Regions from separate parts of the Homo sapiens genome. Here regions 1, 2, 3, 5, 6 and 7 are each linked to region 4. Evidence: promoter capture Hi-C in 16 types of primary human blood cells and fetal thymus (Javierre and others, 2016). All regions are on one chromosome and are shown on one strand. The core of a region is centred on a gene start or on the middle of the fragment in contact, and the rest is flanking DNA. Distances in the headings are between cores, read along the strand shown.

The links. Contacts are between HindIII fragments. The CHiCAGO score rates a contact against its expected background, and 5 or more counts as called.
Region 1: a fragment that was not itself captured here is called in contact with the fragment with the promoter of RASA1 in region 4 in 1 of 17 cell types (M2 macrophages); the score reaches 7.1 in M2 macrophages.
Region 2: a fragment that was not itself captured here is called in contact with the fragment with the promoter of RASA1 in region 4 in 1 of 17 cell types (total B cells); the score reaches 5.8 in total B cells.
Region 3: a contact is called between a fragment that was not itself captured here and the fragment with the promoter of RASA1 in region 4, in 1 of 17 cell types (M0 macrophages). The highest score is 6.1, in M0 macrophages.
Region 5: a fragment that was not itself captured here is called in contact with the fragment with the promoter of RASA1 in region 4 in 2 of 17 cell types (naive CD8 T cells and naive B cells); the score reaches 6.7 in naive CD8 T cells.
Region 6: a fragment that was not itself captured here is called in contact with the fragment with the promoter of RASA1 in region 4 in 2 of 17 cell types (M0 macrophages and M2 macrophages); the score reaches 6.3 in M0 macrophages.
Region 7: a fragment that was not itself captured here is called in contact with the fragment with the promoter of RASA1 in region 4 in 1 of 17 cell types (non-activated CD4 T cells); the score reaches 6.9 in non-activated CD4 T cells.

The regions. Positions count from the first base shown.
Region 1 is chr5:88,818,722-88,822,444 of GRCh38, reverse strand. All of the region lies in intron 2 of MEF2C (myocyte enhancer factor 2C), which reads left to right. Among named protein-coding and RNA genes, the nearest start is that of MEF2C, 63 kb to the left of the region's middle. RefSeq lists enhancers at 854-953, 2,720-2,769. The HindIII fragment of the contact is 439 bases long and covers 2,237-2,675 here.
Region 2 is chr5:88,747,780-88,751,475 of GRCh38, reverse strand. MEF2C (myocyte enhancer factor 2C) reads left to right here. Exons shown (of 11, transcript NM_002397.5): 6 at 2,359-2,406. Among named protein-coding and RNA genes, the nearest start is that of GSCAR, 52 kb to the right of the region's middle. The HindIII fragment of the contact is 1,940 bases long and covers 687-2,626 here.
Region 3 is chr5:88,786,945-88,790,360 of GRCh38, reverse strand. The region is part of intron 3 of MEF2C (myocyte enhancer factor 2C); the gene reads left to right. Among named protein-coding and RNA genes, the nearest start is that of GSCAR, 92 kb to the right of the region's middle. The HindIII fragment of the contact is 4,308 bases long and covers 1-3,416 here.
Region 4 is chr5:87,265,371-87,269,132 of GRCh38, reverse strand. It overlaps RASA1 (RAS p21 protein activator 1), which reads right to left and starts at 1,250. Exons shown (of 25, transcript NM_002890.3): 1 at 143-1,250. The coding sequence starts at 681. RefSeq lists enhancers at 479-528, 286-1,173, 1,227-1,521 and silencers at 709-888, 1,229-1,478. The HindIII fragment of the contact is 5,594 bases long and covers 1-3,762 here.
Region 5 is chr5:88,671,216-88,674,853 of GRCh38, reverse strand. The region is part of intron 1 of MIR9-2HG (MIR9-2 host gene); the gene reads left to right. Among named protein-coding and RNA genes, the nearest start is that of MEF2C-AS2, 3.2 kb to the left of the region's middle. RefSeq lists enhancers at 1,963-2,576, 2,577-3,189. The HindIII fragment of the contact is 7,016 bases long and covers 1-3,638 here.
Region 6 is chr5:88,846,422-88,849,771 of GRCh38, reverse strand. The region is part of intron 1 of MEF2C (myocyte enhancer factor 2C); the gene reads left to right. Among named protein-coding and RNA genes, the nearest start is that of MEF2C, 35 kb to the left of the region's middle. The HindIII fragment of the contact is 4,623 bases long and covers 1-3,350 here.
Region 7 is chr5:88,273,898-88,277,528 of GRCh38, reverse strand. The region is part of intron 2 of TMEM161B-DT (TMEM161B divergent transcript); the gene reads right to left. It also overlaps the pseudogene RNA5SP187. Among named protein-coding and RNA genes, the nearest start is that of TMEM161B-DT, 6.8 kb to the right of the region's middle. The HindIII fragment of the contact is 2,104 bases long and covers 1,007-3,110 here.

The DNA of each region.
Region 1 (3,723 bases), core at 1,207-3,706, 1.6 Mb before region 4:
TATGGTGGATTCCTTTAGTGTTTTCATGCACATCGTTTCTTGCTGTGGATCAAGCCAAAGAGCAATCATTGTGTCAATAGAAAACCGCTATTTTTTAATTGGCCTATAGCTTGAAATTGAAATTAAGACTGAAATATTGAATGTCATGTAACACTGTTTGGACCTTGTTATTTGGACCAGAACCTATTTTGAGTATAGTCAAAAACATATGAATTAGCATTTGCACTTTATTACCAATACCAGATAATTTTTAGGTTTATGATATTCATTATATCTTCTTTTGCTTGCAAAGTTAGAAGAAAATTTTTGCAGGTTGAATTCATGAGCTTTTATTATGCTTTATTAGAAAAAACAGGGATACAAGATTTTTTAATTTCTATTTTTAATTATGGGTACATAATAGTTGTATATAATATGGAATACATGTGATGTTTTGATACAGGTATACAATGTGCAGTGATCAAAATCAGGGTAATTGAGGTATACCTACCTCAAGCATTTATCATTTCTTTGTATTAGGAACATTCCAATTCTACTCTTTTAATTACTTTCAAATATATGATAAATTCTTGTTAACTGTAGTCACCCTATGTACTACCAAATTCTAGATCTTATTCATTTTACCTATTTTTGTATCCATTAAACATCCCCACTTTATCCCCTCCCCACTCCATGCCCAGCTACCCTTCCCAGCCTATAGTAACCATCAGTCTACTCTCTATCTCAGTGAGTTCAATTTTTAAAAAAAAAAAGTTTAGCTCCCACACGAGTGAGAACATGCAAAATGTGTCCTTCTGTGCCTGGCTTATTTCACTTAACATAATGTCCTCCAGTTAGTTTCACTCATGTTGTAACAAATGACAGGATTTCTAGGGATACAATAATTTTAAAGCCGGGAGTGGTAGTTCATGCTTGTAATCCCAACACTTTGAGATGCAGATCACTGGAGCCCAGGAGTTCAAGACCAGCCTGGGCAACATAAGGAGATGCAATCTCTTATTTTAAAAAGTTAAAAAAAAATTAACTGGGTGTGGTAGTGGCATGCACCTGTGTTCCCAACCACTTGGGGACCACTAGGACCCGAGATGTCAAAACTGCAGTGAGCCGTGATCATGTTACTACTACACTTCAACCTGGGCAACAGAGTGAGACCCTGTCTCAAAAAAACAAAAAACAAACAAACAAAGAATCTTAATGTCGCACTTTTGAGCTAATAATTGAATATCTTTTCTTTTTTTATATATAGTTGCAGCTACAGTGGCTGTTACCCTCATCCAGGTTAGAAGTCATAATAACTTTAGAAGAAGAAAACTTATTTAAATTCAGCTTAGTTTGACTTATCATTTTTTTAAATTCTGAAGACAGATTTCTTGATTTTATTCTTTAGAATTTAGGGTATATTTATTCTTTTCTCCAGTCTTTAGATACAGTAGGCCTGTAAGTTCAATACTTTTAAACAGAATTAGTAAACTTGAAATCCACCATGTTTTAATATATATTTCAGTGATTATTTTAGAGGCTGTTGACAATTTCAAACATCTTACATATAAATGCTTGTCTTGTGCACCTCTCACCTACTATGAGAGCAGTTGTAAGAGTCATTTGGGAAAGAGCCTAAATTATGTAGGTCACTTCTAATAAACAAAACCAGCAAATCCGAAACAGCATATCATACTGTGTAGAGGCACCCGTAACCTGGGCTTTCTTTCAACTGTGTATTCACATGTTGCAAAGAAAAATGCTTTGCCCTCTTTGAAGCTGCCCCACTGTAGACTGTCCAGTAGAACCTCATGCAATGGCTCACTGTCATCTTTTCTTAAAAGTTGTCAAAGACTGCTCTGCCATTGCACTTGTTTATTTAGCTATACACAGAATAAGTTATGTTTTTTCCAGAAAAAGAAATACTGACTTCAAGTGTGAAATGAAATATTACAGCACTGATGTTATAAGTTGTATATCATTAAGAAATAAAACTGTTGTGAAATAGAATGGCTGTTTAAATTGAATTTTACCTTTACTTTAGCTGTCTTTCATAATGGAAGTAGGGAACAGCTCAAATTCAGAAACATCAATACATGAAATAGTTTAGGTGAGAATAAAAATTGACAGCTCAAATTCAGAAACATCAATACGTAAAATAGTTTAGGTGAGAATAAAAATTGACAGCTTTTTTATTTAAAAAAATTTTTTGGCATTTCCAAGTTTACAAAAACTATTTCTTTCTTAGTTTCAAGCTTAGACAACATGGATTTCTTAAGCAAGTATGTAAAAATAACATTATGAATTGTTAATTTATCTTACAGAAATTTTCAGACAACCTAATAAAAGTAGTTACCAATTATGTGCCAAGAACTATATATATATATATAATTACAAATAATTTTTATTAATAAGTCCCATTTTATGGCTGAATAATTCATTTATCTGTGAAATCAACAAATATTACTAGACTGCAGTGTACCTAACACCAAGTATTCAGTGGTGAACAAGAATCTCATCCAGCTTATCCTCTGCTTTAGGGGTTCAGCGAGCTTTCCTGTAAAGGACCACATAGCAAATATTTTTAGCCTTGTGAGCCATATAGTTTTTGTCTCAACTACTCAGCTCTGCCCTAGTAGTCTGAAAGCCGTATGCAGTATGTAAATGAACCTGTGTGGCTGTGCTCCAATAAAGCTTTACTGACAAAAACAGGGCGTTTGGATTTCACTTGTAGGCTACAGTTTATGGACCCCTGATTGAGTTAAACAGACATGAAATATAAAAATATATAACAAAAATTTCACTTATATGTGCTATGAAAGAATAATAGGAGGTACTTTATTTACATCAGGGTTGGAGAAAGGCCTGAGGAAGTGCTAAAAGATGAGCTAAAAGATGATTCAGAGTTAGGCAGGTGACAGCATTCCAGAAGCAGTATTTGCAAAGTTCCTTAAGAGAGGAAAGAGCTTGACTGAGGAGCTGAAGGAAGATCAGTGGGACTTAAGCCTGGTGTATGACTGTAGAGAAATGAGAGAAAAGATTGGATGTTAGACAGGACCCAGATATCGCAAAGCTTTGAAGGTCCTGTTAAGTTCTAAATAACTGGCTCAAGATTGTACAGTTAAAACTGGGAAGTGACCAAGATCTGAGCCCGGATCTCTCATATTCAACACGAAACAAATTATGCTTTTTAAAATTATGTCATGATGCATCTAGTGTAATATAATAACTAAGAGCATGGTTTTGTGTCATTACTTTTCCCAATTATACTGCATCCAGTATAATCAAATGGCTAAGAGGCATAGTTTTTAGAGACACACAAACTTCGTTCTTGTCCCAGTTCTGCCACTTACTAGCTATGTGACCCTCTAGCAAGTTACTTAGACCCTCTGAGCTTCAGCAGTACCCTCATCACTAGAGTGAGGATGAAAAAAAGTTAGTACCTTTCTCATTAGGTCTTTAAGACAATTAAATGAAGCAATAAATGTAAAGCACCCACCAAATAATAAGTGCTCAATAAATTTACCTATTAGCTATTCCTATTAAGACTCAGGCTCTTTGAACCATTAGCTATTATAGTTAATGTGATTTCTATCAAAACAACTCTTGTACTGTGTAGCACAATAAAGAATGTTACCTAAACCTTCATTTCATGAGGGTTTTATTTTAAAAGGGTATTGAGGAGATGGATGGAAAAGTGGAACAGGTAGAGCAGGAGCACAAAGGAGCCTTCAGAAGCCAACA
Region 2 (3,696 bases), core at 407-2,906, 1.5 Mb before region 4:
GTGTTCTGTGATAGTATTTATCCCATTTAGTTATTTATTATTTGGGTCAATTTTTTTTTATTTATACAGTAACTTATCCCACAAAGGACTTAGGCAGAAAGGAAATATGATAAGATAGCATCATTTGTAAGACATGTGAAATAAAAACAAAGCTGAATCAGAAATGAAGTTAATTAAACACATGTACACCTGCCACAAATTTGTCTCTGCACTTTTACTTGCTGTTGTTCAATTCACAGTGTCCAAGAGAAAAATAAATTATTTCTCAGAAAAAGTTCATCCATTCTTAGTACTTAGAACAATCAAAATACATTATGATGAATTGTATTTAATATATGTCTATTTTGATACTGGATTTAAAGAACATTTAAGGGAAGAATGTTCTCTTGATTTGCTAAACTAACAGTAGGAACCAAGTCAATGCGTATTGAATATAACAAAATTATTCCTTTATGTTTCCAGAAGCAGCATCAAAAATAATTGTATTTCTAAGTCACATACAGCAAACCATTATATATTTGCATTTCATATTTTTAAAAGTACTCTATAGGAAATTTTTAATGTATCCTACATACACATAGCTGTATGAAAATAGTTTATTCATGGAGGAATTTTCCTGTAGAATACTTATATATCTGCCTTACAATTAAAACCAAACATGTATTACTATTTTTGTTACAGAAGCTTTATATAGAAAATACAGTTAAATTCATCCAAATAAAAAATTTTAATCTTGAGTCTGGGAAATGTATACAAAGGACTTCATTGAGCCATTCTCTTGACTTTTGAATATATTTGAAAATTTTCGTATGAATTTTCAGTAACCACATGTATTCCTTTCAGATCATACTAGAATGCAGTTCACTTTCCTATTTGATAAACTCATGCTCATTTTTTTGAATTTGATACGGTATTTCCAAAATATTATCTGATTGGAAATAATAAACATTTGCTTAAACTGTAACGAAGGCCAGATGCAGTGGGTCACGCCTGTAATCTCAACACTTTAGGAGGCTGAGGTGGGAGGATTGCTTGAGCCCAGGAATTCAAGACCAGCCTGGGCAACATAGAGAAACCCCATCTCTACAAACATTTTTTTTTTAAATTAACTAGGTACAGTGGCTTGTGTATGTGGTCCCGGCTACTCGAGAGGCTGGGGTGGGAGGACCACTTGAGCCTGGGAGGTTGAGGCTGCAGTGAGCCATATTACTGCCACTATACTCCAGCCTGGGCAACAGAGCAAGCTCTGTCTCAAAAAAAAAAAAAAATCGTGTATATATATGTATATATATAAACAAACATTTTCTTTTAATTCCAAAACCTGAACCAACTAATAATTACAGAGTATCACTTAGAGGCAATTAGAAAATCTAGATGATATTCTCACTATTATTCTTTTGGCTGAATGTTGTTTTTTTCAAAACTAAAAGTAATTTTTTTTTTTTTGAGACGGAGTCTCGCTGTGTTGCCCAGGCTGGAGTGCAGTGGCACCATCTCGGCTCACTGCAAGCTCTGCCTCCCAGGTTCACGCCATTCTCCTGCCTCAGCCTCCCGAGTAGCTGGGACCACAGGCACCCGCCACCACGCCCGGCTAATTTTTTGTATTTTTAGTAGAGACAGGGTTTCACCGTGTTAGCCAGGATGGTCTCTATCTCCTGACCTCGTGATCCGCCCACCTGGGCCTCCCAAAGTGCTGGGATTACAGGCATGAGCCACCGCGCCAGGCCCAAAACTAAAAGTAATTTTTATGTTCAATACCTTATTGAAACATCTTGACTCTCATAAATAAACATTGCCAAATTTTAACATACTGTCTAAAGTTAGCAATGAATAAGCATATGTTTCTTAATCTGTGGCCGGTGAAAAATTTGTTATATTGTGTCAGTCAATAAGATTTTAGTAGTAAATGTGGGTAGATTCATGAAACGATCAAATTTCTGGACAATTAACATTGCACAAAATTAATGGCATAAAACATATTTACAAAGAACTAAACATCAAATGTGAGGTCATCTGAGCATATAGTAGACCTTACTCTTTCTTTCACTTTCTATAAAACATCTGCTTAGGGAAAACCTAGACTTAGAAATAATAAAAATGCAGAGACCAAAGACTGGATTTTTTTAAATGTAACTTTCTTAGAAAAAAGATTCTGCAAAATGTCAGTGATTGAATGTATTTTTAACGTTTGAGCACAGCATGGCACAATAAAACAAATGTCAGCCATCTGACTTGGGTTGTACTTTACAAGTTTATGACTATTGCAAGAGGACAAAATACTGAGGTTGCTGAAGGTAAAGTGTTTTGTTCTGTGGGCCTTTAGCCTTTCTCGTTTTGATCTTCCTCTTTAATCCATAGGTGGTCTGATGGGTGGAGACCTCACGTCTGGTGCAGGCACCAGTGCAGGTAAGCCCAGACTCCATACTGCAGTATGTATCATTGTTCTGAGTTCTTCTACTAGGTGATTTGCAGGACAAAGTCTTTTGAACAAATAAAGTTAAGAGATCTGTGAGAGGCATGGAAAAATGACACCAAGAATTTTTAAAGCACTTTTCTGAAGCAGGAGTGGTTAAATAGTAACTTAGAAGAAAACTATTTATTAACTAGAACCTTCCTTAATAAAGCTTCAACTGGTCAGCAGAGAATTAAGGGCTCTGATCCAATCAACTTAATCCTGGATACCATCCTTGGACACAAGAGTACCTTTAGCAAACCATACTTTTTGTGTTCTCTGTTAATCATTTCACATTAAATATGAATCATTTTCCAGCCAAAGAAGTATTGAACTTCTATGCATTTCTAAAGAAGAGTACATAAAGAAAAGGAGGGGTTAAGATTTTAATTATTCAACAATACTGTTAATAAAATAAAATCACATTGGCATTAAAATGAGCTCTTAGACAACATGAATATAATGCATCCCCAAAAGACCCTAAAATATATTTCAGCTAAGAACTTCTTACACTGTGACCAATAATTGTCTCAGTCACATTTCTCCAGGTTTCCGTGTTAATTTGTAATATTGAGATTATTGAGATATCGATGTCATTTTCAATGCAGAGGCAAGATAGCACAATACTTTCAAATGCCAACTGCAGTTCACTATTGGCATAACAAGTAACCATGGTAATTTCTGCAGCTGGAACATGCTATACATTTAAAATAGTAGGAGGCAGGCATGAATGACACAAGGTTATGTTTGAAATGTCAAAAAAAATCAAGTTTATTGAAATAGACATGGATAGCCTAATTAAAATATTTTGCCAGGGTCAAGTAGAATAGCCTGCTAATTATAAGAAAGAAGATAAAGAAAATTGGTTTACAAATACATTTTTATAAATATATCTATTTGAGGGTAGAGTTTCTCTGTTCTGATGCTGGCTCTTCACTAATTCACTGAATAATGAAGAAAAAGTATTAGACCTACACAGTGATTAGCAAACAAGATGAATAACACTAGCTTCCTATTTTATATATCTTTTGAAAATTAGGTCGAGCCAAATTAGTGTGTAAACTCACGTAGTATTTTGCTGGACATGGAAATGAAATTTTTTCCCTCAAAAAATACTTTGTGGTTTGTAGCCTCAAAATGAGAGAACCAGATCAAATCCAGACCAATGTTTCTTGGATCCAAGTCTCTACCAAACACTATGATTAGAAAGAATGGTGAGGACTGAGAATTGGGTGGTCACAAAG
Region 3 (3,416 bases), core at 424-2,923, 1.5 Mb before region 4:
CTGCTGGAGTAGAAAGGATCTAGATTTCCTTTTCCAAACATGTATTTCCTTCTTCATGGAATTTGAAAGTGTGTCTGTAGACTATTTCCTCTTTGTAATTTTATGGAGGGTTAGAATCATGCTATAAAACAGGTTCTTACAACTGAAATTCTGTGAAACTAATTCTTGAAAGGAAGTGTCTTAGGTTTTTCTGGAAGTGTGATACATTCATAAAAGGCACATCACTACCCAGTGAGGTGGGACTCTGGCACATTTCACTCCTTAGTGTGTGCCCATCACTTTGTACTGGCTGCCTGGAGCACACAGTTAAGGAAGATGCTGAGTCCAAGTCCAGACATTCAGGAAGTGTGATGTGATTGGTTAGGGGCATGTGCCTTGGGTGCAGAGAGATAGTAGTACCCATAACTTTTTCATTATTTTCTTGGTCAAAATAATCAATAGGACATTCTGGGAAAAGACTTAATCAAAGTCAGTCATTAAAAGGACTGTAATTAGGTAAATGCTGCATATGTGTACAACAGATTAAGTAAATAGATTATATTATTGGAAATATACCCCATTTTATAGCTATTTGGCATATTATCCAGTCATGTCTCAATGGTGTTTAGTGTATTCTGCACTACTCTGAAATTTAACCACCTGGAAGAAGTTATGAATAAGAAAAAAAATTCTCTGTCAATTATTTCTAAAGGTCATAGAGTTAATGACTAGCTGGAAGGTTAATTAGATTCTGAAAACCTCTTCATATCAATTAAATCTCTTATCTTTATGTTTTAGTAAATAAACTGAATAACTATTTAGAGCTACTGTTCTAGGGTAAGAAACGTTGTAAACAGTAAAACTACACAATGGGTGTTTGGGTTTTTTCCTCACATTAAAAAAAAAAATAGTTATAGCAGGCATGGTGGCTCACACCTGTAATCCCAGCACTTTGGGAGGCTGAGACAGGAGGATTACTTGAGCCTAGGAGTTCAAGACCAGCCTGGGCAACATACAGAGACTCCAACTCTACAAAAATAAAAATAAATTAGCTGGATGTGGTGGTGCATACCTGTACTCCTAGCTACGCAGGAGACTGAGGTCAGAGAATCACCTGAGCATGAGAGGTTGAGGCTCCAGTGAGCTGTGATCATGCCACTGTACCCCAGCCTGAGTGACAGAGCAAGACTCTATCTCAAAAAAAAAAAAAGTATTACAAAAAAGTAGATATATGAATTAATAATAGTAACTTATTTTAATAATAGTAACTTATTTTATAATTTCTGAATTACTTTATTTTTCAAAAATAAAAGTGTGCATATTACTATTTAATCATAAACAAGTTCCATCACTATGATGTCAAGGAGGAAACCATTTCATAGAAAAATAGACCAAAGTTACCCTATGCATGAGCTACTACTAATCTAAAGCCAACTTCACTCTCAGTTATTTCAATAGGACATAAGTTTATTGATTGACTCTGTGGTTAGTTCCAGAAACCCAACCCCTTTGAAAGTTACTGTACACATTTGTAAATAAATGGTATATTTAGCACCTATACTATGACAATTATAAACTCATTTGTGTCATGTAAATTTTCTTTGGATAATATAACCAGACTTCAGATGAAAAGACATAGATCTGCATTAATCTGTAAGGTAGCCTAGCCACATGTGGCTATACAAATATAAATATAATTTAAATTACATAAAATTAAAAGTTCAGCTTTTCAGTCTCACTATCCACATTTCAAGCAAGATGTGACTAGTGGCTCCCAAATATAATTGTCCATTATGAAAGAAACCCTCTGTTGGACAGTAAATGACGAAACTGGTGCATCTAGTGTTCTCTTTCATTCAAATAACTGGCATGGGCTGGCCGAGGTGGCTCATGCCTGTAATCCCAGCACTTTGGGAGGCCGAGGCAGGCGGATCATTTGAAGTCAGGAGTTCAAGACCAGCCTGGCCTACATGGTGAAACCTCATCTCTACTAAAAATACAAAAAAAAAAAAAATTAGCCAGGCGTGATGGCACACGCTTGTAATCCCAGCTACTCGGGAGGATGAAGCAGGAGAATTGCTTGAGCCCGGGAGGCGGAGGTTGCAGTAAACTGAGATTGTGCCACTGCACTCCAGCACTCCAGCCTGGGTGACAGAGCGAGACACAGTCTCTAAATAAATAAATAAATAAATAAATAAATAAACAAACAAACAAACTGGCATGATGGTTAATAGATACAGCCCAATAAAGGATATGTAAACTGGAGAGGTTGCACCTGGCTACTTCACCTTCCATTCCTGCAGCAGGCATTTATGACATGCCCACTGTGCGTCAGTCAGGACCTGAGCCAGGGCAGAGAAATCCAACCAGGAAAGTTGAATCACTCAGTTGGCATTTACTCCAAGGAACAGAATATTTGTTAAAGTCTATGTGATTTTGTGGAGAAAGACGAGAAAATGGAGGGATCACTGAAGCTGGAATTGCCCTGAGGAAGAAGAGAAAATGGAAAAGGCACAGGAAAAATGAGTAGTAAGAACGTAGAAATAAGCTAGGTCCCTTGTGAACTTTTCCAACAGGAAAGAAAAGATCATGCGTGCACACGGTTTCTTCTGATTTTTCTTAATTAGTATGTGCGGAATTTTATCTTCATCCAGACTCCATGATTGGTTTTCCTTAACTGTAGTTGTTCTGAATTAATTTCATGTGGGGGAAAAATAAAGCTACAAAGTGATTTTTCTAAAGAATATTGTTGAAGCATTGTTATGAGAGTTCATCTTTCAAATTTTACTTCTAGGATATAGGACTTTAAAAGCTCCACAAATTTGAAGGAAAGATGGAGATTAAAAATTCAGTTCCAGTTACAGCAACATCACACACTCTCATTCTCTAACGGAGGGCGAGTTATGTAACCTTGCTGGGCTTTAGGTTCCTCATGAGTTAATGCTGTCTACCCTGAGCTCCTTACGGGGCTGTCATGAGGATTGCAGGTTATAACAGCTGTCAGAGCCCATTGTCAACCCTTAAGTTTTAAAAAATTAGTTTTATTTTCAAAGTCAAGAGAAAAAGTTCAGAGAAGAAAAAATGCTAACCAAAAGAAAGACAAAAATTCTTAATTTACGACTGCATAGTTTATGCTAATAAGTGTATTATTTATAAGTAAATATTGAATGATTATATAAATAACTGTAGCATTTTACATAAATTAAGAAGATCTAACAAAGGTCAACGAATTGATTTTTTTTTTCTTTTCCACAAGTATTTATTAAGTGTATGTGCAAAGTATGGTGTTCACGGCCCTCCAGGGCCAGTAGCAGTCCATGGTGGACAGAATATACACAGTATTTGTTCTCTCATTCAGTAGATATTGATGGACATGAAGATCATTTGCTAAGCATTCTGCCAGTTACTGGTGATGCATCTGTGATTATGATACCCAA
Region 4 (3,762 bases), core at 1-2,500:
ATTCCTACCCAAGAAACCTGAAACTTCAAAAACTTTTCCTAACAAACCACAGATGAAAAGGACAAAGTATGATTTACCCCTTCATTTCCACTTCTTTTCTGGAGCCAGCTTCCCAAATTCCTGAACAGCAGTCTTAACTTACTGGTTAGTTGGAGGAGCGGTCAACGGTATGGCCACCTCTTCCTCCTCGTATTCTGGTCCATCCAGAGAGTCACCTTCGTCCACTGTCCCGAGGCCCGCCCCCAAAGGGGGCAGGTAAGGGGGAGGGGGCAGAGGGGGAAAACCGCCGCCTGGCCCGAGAGTCTCAGCAAGCAACGAAGTGGGCAGTTTGGTGAGAGCCATGTCTCCACTAGGTCCAGCAACAGCAGCACCGGCCACGCCAGCAGCAGCACCAGCTACGCCAGCAGCAGTACCTCCCCCTGTCAGTCCAGCTCCCCCCAGTGCCCCTGCCACAGACCCGGCTCCTAGGAACTCTGACCCCAAAGCGGCTCCGCCACCCAGAGTTCCAGCCACTCCGGTCTCCACCAGCCCAGGATAGGGGGCGGCTGCCACAGGCAGGGCCGCGGGTATCTTCACCCGACACACTGCGGGATAGGCACTGGAGCCCGCTGCCGCGCCGCCTCCTCCAGCTCCGGCTGTTACCGGGCCGCCCTCCTCACTGCCGGCCTCGGCCGCCATCATGTTGAAGCCCGCTCTACTCTGCCCTACCCTGCCCGCCCGGGAGCCCCAGGGGCCACCAGGCCCGGGCTCCGAGCAGCCCCACCCAGACGCGTCTCCCCTTCAGCTCCCCAGGCTGAGGAAACAACAACAAAAGGAGAGAGCCCGCCGCCGCGCCCCCTCCTAGGGCCACAGCCCAGGCTCCCCAGCTGCCTGGGTTACGGGAAGCCAAGTGGGCAAAAAACCCAACGCCTGCACAAACGCCACCCAAACCTCACCGCACACACCCACACTCACGCACACAAACACATGTACAGAAGCGAAAACTTCCTCGCTGCACTAAAGAGGAAAGGAAGCACAGGGAAAGAGGCTGAGGCTGCTACCGCTCCTTCAGCCGCCACCACCGCTTCTTCACCACCCCAGTTCCGGCCACCCACACCGCAGCCACCGCCGGTGCCGCTGCTGAGGCTGGGGCCACTGCAGCCGCTTCATCCTCCACCAGGCAGATGAGAGGGGTGGGGGGGCAAGAGAAAGGGGGGCGGGGTAACGAGGAAATCGACTGAACTGCTCACTACCTGGAGCTCTCAGTGAGTGAAACGGGAGAGAGAGAAAGGAAGGCGGGGCAGGGGAGGAGGGACGGAGGGAAGGAAGGGCGGAGAAGGGAGAGGGCAGCTTGTGCGCAGGCGCGTTCCCGGAGCGGGGGCGGGGGGCCGGGCCGGGAGGAAAAGGAAGAGTCCAGAGGGAAGGAAGCGGCGGGGACGCGCGGTGCGTGGTCGCGCTTGCTGTCCTCCTCCGGTTCCAAGCGTGTGGCGGCGCGGCCGCATCTCCTGTTGGCGTGGCCGGCGGCGCGCGCCTGTCTCCCGGGGCTTTGTTTGATGGGCGGGAGAAGAGGGAAGGGTACCTGAGCACGCGGGTGCTTGGCGCTGTTAAAGCCGGAGAGACCAGAGGGGGACCAGGAGGCGGTGGAGAGGAAGGAGGGGGAAAGGGAAAGGAAAATGCCCAGAAACTAGTTCCGTACTTCCTGACCAGTGGAAAAAACAGCCTTAACCAGCAGCGCAGAAACCGGGCAGGGGTCAGGTAGCTTTGAAGATCGGGGCAGTACTATTAATGTTTTCTTTTTCGTTGCATGCTATAAATCACTATGACTATCTCACACACACACAGTTAAAATAGATTCTGAAACTCCAAAACGAAATAAAGGGCACCATATGAGAAGGGTGAAGAATTTGAGTAGAAATAGTGGTTATGAAGTAAGATTTCTACCAGTATTTGCATACGTTTTTCTTTATCAACTGTCTCATATACTTACCTATGCCATTATAAGTCTGTTGGATACTGATGAAGAGGAGGAGGTGCCACAGAAAACACTAATCAATGCACTTTTGTCCTGGTTTGTGTGCAAAAGACTGCAGGACGTGATCCACAATGCAAGCACCTTCAACAAGTCAAATGTCAAGAATGTCCCAGAATGCTAGTTATAATTATATATCGTTTCAAAAGTAGCAATAAACTGAAAACTCATTTTTAATACAATTAAGGAGAAGGGTGTTATTTTGTCTTTTACACTAAAATGTATACAAACTATGCATTCATGTAGAGGGAGCTTCCCATGGTTTGAAATTAACAATATTGTTAAATTCTCCCAGGAGTGATCCCACATTAAATACCATTGGATATTGATCTTTGAGATCAATATTTTCTGTGCTAAGGATGATCAAACTAACACTCAGGATGGCAAGTGGCTGTGATAGAAACCCAGGAAAAAGAGAAAAGACCACTAAAAGACGTGACAAGATACAGGCAATGCATTGCCTTTGTAAGTTTGCACAGGCCTATTTACCTAGTCAATGACAACAATCCAACTTGATTAGGAGTAGTCCTGGGGCCTCCATTACGCATATCTCTTAGCAGTGTGCTACCTGGGAGAAGGAAGATGGACCAGTCACAGGAGCTAGAGTTCTCAAAGTGAATTCAGGCCGCAACATCCTAGGAATTCAGAAATGCCACCTCAGACCTTCTGAATCAGAAAATATGCAGCGATCCATTTTAACAAACCCTCCAAGTGATTGTTTGCACACTTAAGTTTGAGAACCACTATATTAATGTATAGTATACTAATCAAGAAGGAGGTATGCAATACCTAAAAACGGTTCTGAAAGAAATAATAAATGTCATTCATTAGGTGGGTAGGTAAAATAGGCGGGTTTTGAGTTGCCAAGCTCTGTGCTGTTCTAGAAATGAGAATGAAGTAGTTCCATAATACTTAATAATGAAGTACTACTTATGGTGGCCTCCCTGAGAACAGTTTTCTTTTAAACTTAGACCCTCAGTTAGACAAGACTATCAAAATACCTACTCTACTTACTGTCTGCTGTGTGAACACCAAGTGCAACAATCCCAACAAATCTTAATATAGCCTGTGCTTGAAAACCTCCAGTGTGTTAGCATCCCAATCCTCCAACATTCCTGTCCCAGTCACCACTGTCAGCCCTTGAATGCAGGACATTGAACTGGCAGGTTATCACCGGCTCTTGGTTATCACTGATTTCTAAATGTTCACACACCCTCTGTATGTTGCCTGGGAGTCCAGGTGAGGCTCACTACTCTTACTGCAGAATTACCTCCTCCTTTTTGACAATTCTTTAGCACTTGTAAAGGTCAATATTTAATGCAGTCTAACACCTATCAAATGCTCAATTAAATGTTTTCTAGACTTTTAGGTGTATGTACCTACAAAACTGTACTGCAAATACAACCTGTGGTCTATTCTACTGCCTAGCCCAGTCCTAGGCAACCTCAGTATGCTACTTTGAACAGATCTTCATCCTTTTAACAAATACCAAATTTGATCAGCTCCCATCTTTGGAAATCAATTTCTTAACCAGTAGGAAATAACTACTATGTCTATTTGTAAATCAGCCTTATACCAATATCTTACCTAGTTTTTGTTTAGCCTTAGAGTTAGCCCTGTTCTTTTCCTCCAAAGAAATTGCCACATATTTTTATGAGGTATTTTCAGATATTTAATATATTCCTATTATTGGATAGATCTAGGCTCTAATCTTTACTATTGCTTGTGTACTTTCTGAATCTCAAATACGTTGT
Region 5 (3,638 bases), core at 1,007-3,506, 1.4 Mb before region 4:
CGGCCTCTTCTGGGCCGGAGGGCAGATCTACGAGCAGGCAAGAAAGGGGCGCCGGTGGCTGTGGTGGCGACTTCTCCGCTCTGCCCTCGGCCGCCAAGTGTGCCGTTTCATCGTTCCACCTCGCAGCCCCAGCTTTGTTTTCCTGACATGTTCGTGGCCATTGGGCCCCACGCCTGCGAGGGGAGTGTGTGCGTGTGCGCGGGGGTCGGGCGCGCGCGGCGGGTGGGGGCTCTCCCGCCAAGGACACGCATGGCTGTCTGTCCTCCGGCTGCACTTGGCGGGAAAGCTAGGGGCCGCCGGCGGGGCTGAGCGCCAGCGGCTGTCATTACCGCCTCCCTGCTCCCCGCGGGCTGCATTTACATACGGGCCACTCGTCTGAATTTTTACGGCACTCTTCCCCCTCCCGTACCCGGTCGCACGCGCGCAGGCTCGGAACTACCACCCCGGCACGCAGACACCCGCGCCCAGAATGCGGCCAGCCCCAGGCGCGCAAACAGGCCCACAGGGGCCGACGGCACTCGGCGGGACGGATTCCTGCACCGCCTCCCCGCACCCCCGTGCCCACACCCCTGACAGCCTCTCCGCTTGTGTTGCAGGAAGCCCACCTTCCCCTCGAAGCCCCCACCCTTCTCTGTCTGCATACTTCCACCCCCACCCTCCCACATCTCTCCGTCTCTCTTTCCGTGGAAGGCAGACGCGCGCGCGCGCGCGCACACACACACACACACACACACACACACACACCCGCTTTTTCTTCCTCCTCAAATAGATGACCCCTATGGCGCGTCCCTGGTACATTTAGAATACCTCTAGAGTTTAGAGAATAAAATTCTTTAGAATGCATTGCTTGTCTTTAGCTAAACACATTTAACAACCACGACACAAACGGGGAGGAGTGAAGAAGGGGGACTTGAACCAAAAGACCTTTAAAAAAAAAAAAGTCTGCGAGTCAAAAGGTCATTCTCCAAGTTTGTAAATAAAATTGCAAAGGGAGTCCTTAAGAAAGGAGAGGAAAGAAGGGGAAGAAGGTTAGGAAGACTCACAAGTTACATAAAACAGTGCATTGGAAAAACGACAGGGAGATTCTGTAATAAAAAAAAAAGAAGAATCTTAAGAAACCAAGAGAGAGAAAAAAAAACTGGAGGAAAAAAGAAAAAGAGAAGAAAAGGATTTTAAAAAAAAGAAAAAAGCAAAAGAAGTTTCCAAAGAAATGTGTGCTTTGCATCCTACAATAGGAAAATGTAGCCATTGCCTTCCTTCAGACGAGACATTTCTAATTTGTTCCGTCTGTCAGGAGGGGACTATGAGAGGTTTGGGTGCAAATTCATTATCTCTGGCAACGCAGAACGTAGTGTGGGGACTGAAAAAGACCGTGGCAATGGATGAACAATAGGGCTTCAGTTCATCAGTAACAAAAGCAGTGGGGAAATTGGTTGAGTTTCAGAGCACGTCCTCCTCGGCAGAGGGGGCTGGACTAGACCTTGGACAGCCCCCCCAAAAACTTGCCAAGCCTCGCACACACCACTTCACTCTCCACTCCGAGGCTCAGGGAGCAAGTGCCTGGCATGGGGGGTAAAAGTTGGCTTTTTTTTTACTCCTTGGTCTTTTGCGCCCTTCTCCCTCTCCCCAGAAGGGAAGACCCATTTAAACTATTTTAGACGCAATCAACCAAGAATCACCATGTGGAATTGAGCGGCAGTTTTAAATGTGTTGAGCAGGGGAGAGGAATGATGAGAAAAACATTTTTTTTTTTTTTTTTGGAGACGCCGAAAGAAGCCTGTTTGTGTGCTGCGGCCGTGCTGTGACTTTGGATCTTGTCTTTCAGCCGGCGCCTCGGTTCCTGCCCAGCTGGATTTGGGGGGCAGCATTGCCTGGCGCAGGGAGATCAAGTGAGTATCGTGGCGGCCCTCAGGCTGCAGCTCGCCCGCGGCGCGAGGCCAGCAGTGCCCGCCGCGGCCCCGCGCCCGCACTCCTCACCTCGCCCGCTAGCCGGTGCCCGCAGAGTCCCGCTGCGGGCCGCTCCGAGGGCCAGTCCGGGGCTTTGCTTCAGCTAATTGATTGTGTGCCTCGGATGTTAAACCTGTTGATCTCGTGAGTTTTCTTAGCCAGTACTGTTAATTATCCAGCGGCTTGACCCCCAATCGCAGAGAGATGCCAGGAAATCTTCGCGTTGGAAAAGGGAATTTTTGTATGTAATTTTGTGGTGGTGGTGGTGGTGGTGTGTTTGGGGGGGCTTTTCCCTTTTAAACCTAGAGCAAAATGCACTTGTATTTTGCACTTCTGTATTCGAATTCGCATTTTGAAGAATTCGCCTCCCTTTAACCGCCCCAAAGTTGCAATTACCTGGCAAGGAAGCGAGGGTCTGATTAGATTTTGGTGGAAAACTTAGTACAGTAGCTAAGTAGATCTGGTGGCTTTCCACTTCCCTTTTCTCTTTGCCTTTTGAATTTTGGGAGGTGAGAGGCCGCTTTACAGGGTTATCCCAAGTTCAGATTCATCAAGATGCAACCATCATGGTTAGTTATTGGTACTTGGAGCGGTTCAGCTTAAGACGCTTCTGGTATCCAAACGGAGCTAGGTCTTTGCGGTTTGCTTAGAGTCTAGACCCGGCTGAGGAAGGCAAGAACTCCTTTCTGTGGCCTGGAATTATCTGCAGGAACCCAGGGTGATGGGAACTCGGGCAATGTATTTGCATTAGTGTCTGCGGCGTTTTATCTTGCAAATGTACCCGCGGTGCTTGAATGGGGGACTGTCTTGAGGGGTCAGGAGAGCAGTGGAATTGATCAGAAGTTAGACCGGAGGCTCTGTCAAGTCACGGCCACGGCCGGGGGCCCCTTTGGAGCTGTGGCTGCCTTGGGCCCAGCACCGCAGAGTCGGGTTCCGTTTCCTCCCTTTCTTGGTGTCCACCTCTGTCTACCACCCTCCTTTCTCCACCTTGGCACCGGTAATTAGGGCGCTGTCTCAGGAAGCGAGCTCCCACAGTCAGCATAATTAAACCAGGGCAATACTTTCATTTTGCAAAACCAATAGCCCCACCCCTCCAGTCCAAAATAACAATAAGCATTAAAAAATCATAAAAGAAAAACAACCTATTTTGGGGAGTATTGAATTCCTGAATGTTGGATCGAGAGGGAATGGGGGAAGGGAAATTTTCAAAAATCCACCACTTTACAGCAATCAGGTTTTACATTATTCATTGATTTACTGGAGGAAAGAGCCAATCAGGAGCCATAGATATGAATGCACATCTCACGGTGCTGTGGCCTTACAGTAAACTATTTGCATCTTTCTAATGGAGTAGATATTTATCCAGGGATTGCCATTGTTCGAAAGGCCTGGAAATTCAGTTCCTTAAACATTTAGAAAATAAGACTTTGTTCCAGACTTAAAATCCTTACATGGAAGGACTCTCCTCTTTTGTATGGCAGGTTACAAGGTTCAAGTCCCTAATGTTTTTTTAAGAGTCCCTCTTCCTTCCAAGCTAAAAATAAAAGAAAAGAAGAAAGAAAAATTAATTTCTCAAACCCCTCCAGATTCTGCATATTTTGCATTCACATTATCATGCATGTCTCCATTTGAATGCAAATTAGCATATTTAACCCCGTGGGTGCTGAGACCTAGGATACATTGTACTGGGG
Region 6 (3,350 bases), core at 608-3,107, 1.6 Mb before region 4:
AAAAGTATTGGAGTGAAATGTTAATGGTTTCAATTCAAATTATTAAATTAAAAATGGATCTAGAGTATACTGGATTTGCTAATTTCTGGAAGTTTCTGCATTTCGAAATATTGATTAACGATAGATAATTTCTTAAGGCAGCTTGCAGATTCATTTGCCTGAAACAGAGAAAACAAAACTTTAATAATGGCCAATCATGAATGTGATTGATACAAAGTTAAACACTTAAGACACAGATTAAATAGAATAAATATGTTCAAACTTTTATTGTAGATTTTTAAATTGAGTCTTAGATAACATTGCATGTTAGTCAAATATCACACTCATTCTCTGTATATATATTATGTGCATATGACCTTATTATTTATTTATTTTTAACAAATAAGTTTTGCAATCTTTGCAGGACAAAGAAGAGATATTTCCCATAGAATTCAACAGATTAGCCAAAATCATGTGTGCTGGCTCTTAGATATGTGAATTTTAAGGGTTAAGCAGTTGGAGCATGTGGATTTATGAATGCTTTTTATTTTCAAATTAAATTATTTAGAAACAAGTAAATTAAAAATACTTTAAAATATTTTAAAGTATTTGGCACAAGAATTTTTTTTTTTTTTTTTTTTTGAGACAAAGTCTCACTCTGTTGCCCAATCTGGAGTGCACTGGCGCGATCTCGGCTCACTGCAACCTCTGCCTCCCGGGTTCAAGCGATTCTCCTGCGTCAGCCTCCTGAGTAGCTGGGATTACAGGCAGGCGCCACCATGCCCGGCGAATTTTTGTATTTTTAGTAGAGACGGGGTTTCACCATGTTGGTCAGGCTGGTCTCGAACTCCTGACCTTGTGATCCACCTGCCTCGGCATCCCAAAGTGCTGGGATTACATGCGTTAGCCACCACGCCTGGCTCACAATAATATTATTTTAAGAAGTATTTTCCAATATTGAAGAATCTTTGTGTCATCCAAGAACACATACTACTTACTTCTACATCACCCGTTAAGAACTCTAAATACCTTATTCATTAGTATAGAAAATCTTTTAACTCTTTCACAGAGAAGAATGACATAGGCAAATGGAATTTGTATCCCCAGGAGTGTCAATTTTTTTACCAAAATCCAAACTTAATTTTCATCAGTGTGCCCATTTTTATAATGTGCTTACCCCAGTTGCAAATCACTAGTTAACAGTGTGGAGTGAGAAGTTATACTACTGAAGATTTCAAAATGTGCCTCAGCTTATCTACCTTATTATGACTAGAATAATTATAAGAATTAAATAATATGCATAAAGCACTTAGCATATTGCCTATTATCATTACTATGTAGAGAGATAGAAATGTGTGAAAATGGGAGTTTTTACCTTAAGGATGTAATTTTTCATCCGTGTAAGATTACCCAATATTCTATAAAATAAGAGATGTTACATAACTAGAAAGTTGTAGCCATTCAACCATTTTTCTGGAACTAGCTTTATTATCCTCTACTAAAATGGTTTTGGCCACTATAACTTTGGTCTTTCAAATACAGATCATTATTAAGTTTTTAAATCCAGCAGATTCTCTCCACAATGTCTTTCTGCTCTTTACCTTTGAGGAGTTTTTTTAAATGGCAAATTATTCTATATCATCTTTTTAAAAGTTATGACAATTAAAGATTTAAAATCTCAGCTAAAATATTATATATGGATTTTTAGTTACATTTTATGCCCAATCGCTAGTTGTAAGCATAGTTGTAAGCGTGCTGAATGAAGTTTATTTGCACTTTGTGTATTCCCACTTTTTAGTTATGTACTTTATAAGTGGAATTTATTTGACTCTAACTTTTGTAATTTAGATAATCATTGTTTGTGTTCAAATTCAAATGTGAGGAACTTTGAATGCATTTGTGATCCAAGTCATTACCAAAAATTGTGTAAATATAAATGAGATAAACAAAATAGAAATGGTGGTCTCATATGAAAGGTATAGATTGGTGTCTGATGTTGTATCCTAATTTTATGTACCAGATTCACATGTTAAAATTCTATCTAGAGGTCCTGGGATTATTCTCTCTCCCTTTTTTTTAACATGTGTTTTATAGTCAAGTTACTAAGTGAAAAAAAAGAAAAGAAAAGTGGTAATAGAGGAAGTTGGCACAGAGAATTGTCGCTGTACTCAGCTCTTTTTATCTTTTTCTAAATATAGTCTTAAAATATTGTCCAGGTCAGCTGATGTAAGCAGGGAAGTGCTTCTTCATGTCTTCTTTCTTTCCCAGTCATTTCAATAATGTTTTGGTGAATTAAAGTATGTAAGTGAAACAAAGAAATCAGTGCTGAGTTCTGATAGCAAATTGAAAATTGAAATTGCTAAATTTCCAGATATTATAATAGATTGCTAATCTCAAAACTAGGACTACATTGGTATTCTAGGGCTAAAGTGATAAATTTTTAATAGAGATGTCTCCTACGAGCAAGTCTTATTATAACATACTAGAATATCATTTATTCTTTCAGGGTGTGATTTATTCTATTTAAATATAAGTCCTGTAAAGAAGATGTGTTAATCTGTTTTTACTCTACATAAATATGACTGCTACTCTCTAGTCAGTAGATGTATTCAAAAGCCAATATGTCTACACTCTCACATTTCTTCTGTAAATGATGAATAATGTTGATAAATGAAAATTACAAATCCGCAATAGAGCTTAACTATTGAATACTAAATCATTCTGTTGCTAACTCCATGTTCCAGTGACATTTTTGATATAAAAAGACGTCATTCCTGCATTTAAAAAATATTTTGTGCTTTTGCAGCAATATAAGCAAATGTACATTTGAAAGAAAATTCACAATGCAGCCACAAATAATTCCCTTTAAGATTCAAGGTGCCATTTCAAAAATGGTTCAATTTTCAAAGTAGAATATTTAAAACCTCTTTCCTGCCAGACTATATCCATTCCACGTGTTTGGTACAATTAAAATAGAAGAGTTGGTGGAATGAAACTCTTCCATCTATATTTTGGAAAAACATATTCACTCACCTCAGTTTGTCAGTGTACATTTAGAGGCTGGTCATTATGCAGTAGAAAAAAGAAGAAGGCAGCTCCAACTCATGTGACTGACATACTGAATATGGCCATTAATACAACTTGACAGTGACCTTGGCGGCATTACAGGTAATCTCCCTGCAGGGATAAACTGTGTTTGAATGATATTTCTACCATGTTGAGCACAAAGAGATTTCTCCTTGGAACTTTACTGCTTAATTTTCTTTTATGCTAACAAAGACATTACAGAGTGATTTTTGTAATGATTTTCTTTTTCCTTTTGCTCTCTGAAATGACAGTTTACTACATGGTATTGCTGCTGTCATTTTTCT
Region 7 (3,631 bases), core at 809-3,308, 1.0 Mb before region 4:
TTTGTTAAGTTACCTAATTTATATTTTTAAAGGAATATAGTAAATGGTATGTTACAAAAATCATTTTCTAACAGTTCATTTCTGCTGGAAAGAAATGCAATTCACTTTTGTATATTGATAGTCATATTATCTGTTTTCACATTGCTATAAATACTGGAGACTGAGTAATTTATAAAGAAAAGGGGTTTAATTGGCTCATGGTTCTGCAAGCTGTACAGGAAGCATAGTGGCTTCTGCTTCTGAGGCAGCTTCAGGAAGCTTCCAATCATGGTGGAAGGCAAAGGGGGAGCAAGAGCAAGAGAGAGGGGAGAGGTACCACACAATTCTAAATTACCAGATCTCCTAAGAACTATTTCAAGGACAGTACCAAGAGGATGGTACTAAACCACGAATGAGAAACCCATTCCCGTGATCCAATCTCCCACCAGGCCTCACCTCCAACATTGGGGATTACAATTCAACATGAGATTTGGGTAGGGACACAGATCCAAACCATATCAATAGTATATTCAGAATCCTTGCAAAGCTCTTCAATAATTTATCTGTAGACTAAGTTATGTTTATTTACAATTTTTAATCTTTTGTTTTTCTTGCCTTATAATGCTGGCTAGGATCTCCAACATAGTACTTGTTCCTGATTCTAATGGACTGCTTCAAATACTTCATCTTAAAATATTGTTGTTGTAGGTTTTATTGGCTCAAGGAAGTTCTACACAATTCTAATTTGCCCAAAGGTTTATCTATGTCTGTTAATTTTTTCAAATAGTTTTCTTTTCCTGCATCTGTTCAGATAGCCAGATAGTTTTTCTAATCTCTTAATATACTAAAATACATTCCTGGGTTAAATTCAACCTGATCATGTTTTATTATCTTTTCTTAAAAACACATTTTCTAAGGTCTGTTTTATTTAGGATTTTTGTCTTTGCGAATATGACAGGGCTGTAATTCTTACTGCCCTTATCAAATCATTACTGCCCTAATAAAATCAGGGCAGTAATATTAAGCTTCTGTAACCTTGATGTTAAATTTGATAAGGGCAGTAAGGGCCAATTCCACAGTATATAAGTGGAATATACTGTGGAATGGTTTGTGTAAAATTGTAATGATCTGTCCTTTGAAGGTTTGGCAAAAGTCTCTGGGCATCATGATTTCTTACATCAACATCCCACCATTTATATTTTCCATTACATGGCTTTTGAAAAGTTACATTTTCTGGAACTGCCTACTTCATTTATATTTTCCCATTTATTATTAAGTTGTTCATAATTTCTCATCAATCTCCACAGCATTTGTAACAACATCCCCATTTTCACTTCTAATAATATTTATTTATTTATTTTTTTCCAAGAGACAAAGGTCTTGTTATGTTGCCTAGGCTAGTCTCAAATTCCTGGCCTCAAGGGATGGTCCCGCCTTGGCCTCCCAAGGTGCTGAAATTACAGACGTGAGCCACCACACTCAGCTTGGACAAAATATAAAACAAACATCTGACAGCATTAGAGACAATGAAATATTCAGAAGGAAAAAACAGAGTTGTTGAATCCAGCATTTACATTAGCTTTTCCTCTGGAGTATCTTCTGATTCCTGAGGTGATGGCTGAAAAGTTGAACAGAGTTTCTAACCCATAGAATTAAAAAGACAAAAACTGAAGTTTAGGGCCTGATCTGGTAAACTCTGCATGCTTGAGTTGGGACTTCAGAGGTCTACATTGTGAAAGTATGAACAGGAAATAGACCTGCCTATATTCTAATTGTCTCTATCACTAACCAGATTAAGAAGATCTTAGATTACTAGTGTCCAAAGGTCTTGCCAGGAGACATAAATTCTTTCTTTAGAAAATACCATCATATTGGACTTCAAAGTATAGTTTCCTCATATACAGTTCAATCAAAACAATTCTGACATTCAATTAAAACATAACCTAAGCCAAGTTTTATATATTTATAATGTTTATAAAATAAATAATACAAAATAACATAAAAATAAGGGACATAAAAGCAAGACAATGTGATAACAGCAAGAAACAAGAAAAGTGTCAGATAATAGCAGACACCATAGTTATTAGATACAGGTTTTAAAGTAATTATGATTAGTATGTTTGAGGAAATAAAAGATTGAGATATTGGATAAACAACTGGAAACAATAAAACAGAATCAAGTAGAAATGTTTGAACTGATAACCAAAAATATAACTAAAATAAATGCTTCAAGAGAGATTTAACAAATTCGAGACTACTAAGAGAAAATAGTGAACTGAAAGTTAAGAAGAAATATTCAGGATGAAACAGACAAGAAAATAAATGGAAAATACAAGGGACAAAGTGAATTGTCAAATACAAATGTAAGTGGAGTATCAAAAGAAGAGGAGAAAGGAGAGTGAAAGCAGAAGCAATGTCTGATCAAACAGAGCTAAGAATTTTCTCAAACAGCCTAAGGACATCACAGCCAGATTCAAGAAACATTATCAATCTCGAAGCAGAAAAAAACCACACACACAAAAAAACAAACACAAAACACATGTGGGCACACCAAACTTAAGACAAACCTCTTAAAAGTAGCCATCCAAAAAAAGATTACCTTTGAAGAGAAAAAAACAAAATGGACATTATGTCTTAGAGGACATAATGGAAGCCAGAAGGAATAAAATATATCTTCAAAATGATAAAATAGCTGCTAATTCAGCAAAAACGTTCTTAGAAAATGAAAGTAAAATAAGACAGTGTCAGGACAGAAAATCTGAATGAATTGTTACCAGTAGATATTCGAAGAAATATTAAAGTATGTCCTTCAAGAAGAAATAAGGTCTTAGATGGAAGCTCAGATTCCAGGAACCACGAAACACAATAGAAAAAGTAAATGTTTTATACAATATGAAATGTAAATTCATATTGTATAAAAAATGTCTTGAGAATTTAGGAAATACATATTAAGAATATACAATGTATATAACATGAGGTGTGGCAGTAAATGAAGTTGATGTGTTCGCAGGTCCTTACATTGTCCTGGAAGAAGTATAATACCAAATTATCTTAAAGATGATAAACCAAGGTTCCATGTTTTAATACCTGAGGTGAACAGTAAAAAGATACTAAAAGACATCTGTCAAGCTTATGAGGTAGAAAAAATGGAATAATTAAAAATAATCTAAAAGGTCTATAGCCATACCACCCTGAATATGCCTGTTCTCATCTGATCTGGGAAGCTAAGCAGGGCTGGGGCTGATTGGCACTTGGATGAGAGTCTGCCTGGGAATATCAGGTGCTATGGCCTAATTAAGAAAAAAAAAAATCAAAAAGGCAAAAGAAGACAAAATGAACATATAAGAGGTGGGACAAATAAAATAAGAATAATGACAAATTTAAATCCAAGTATGTTAGTAATTATGTTACATGAAAGCTGACTCTTTATGCCAATTAACAAATTACCAAAGTGGATTTTAAAAATATATTATCTTATATTACTCTTTGGATTAAAATGCTCTCATTTTTTTTTCCATTGCACATAGAATAAAATCTAAACTCTTTCCTGTCTTTCAAAGGTAACATGATCTAGCCCTTTCCTATCCCTCCAAAGTTACAGTATTTGCGTCTTAAGTCACTATTCTCTAACCATGCAGGCCTTCTTTTGGCT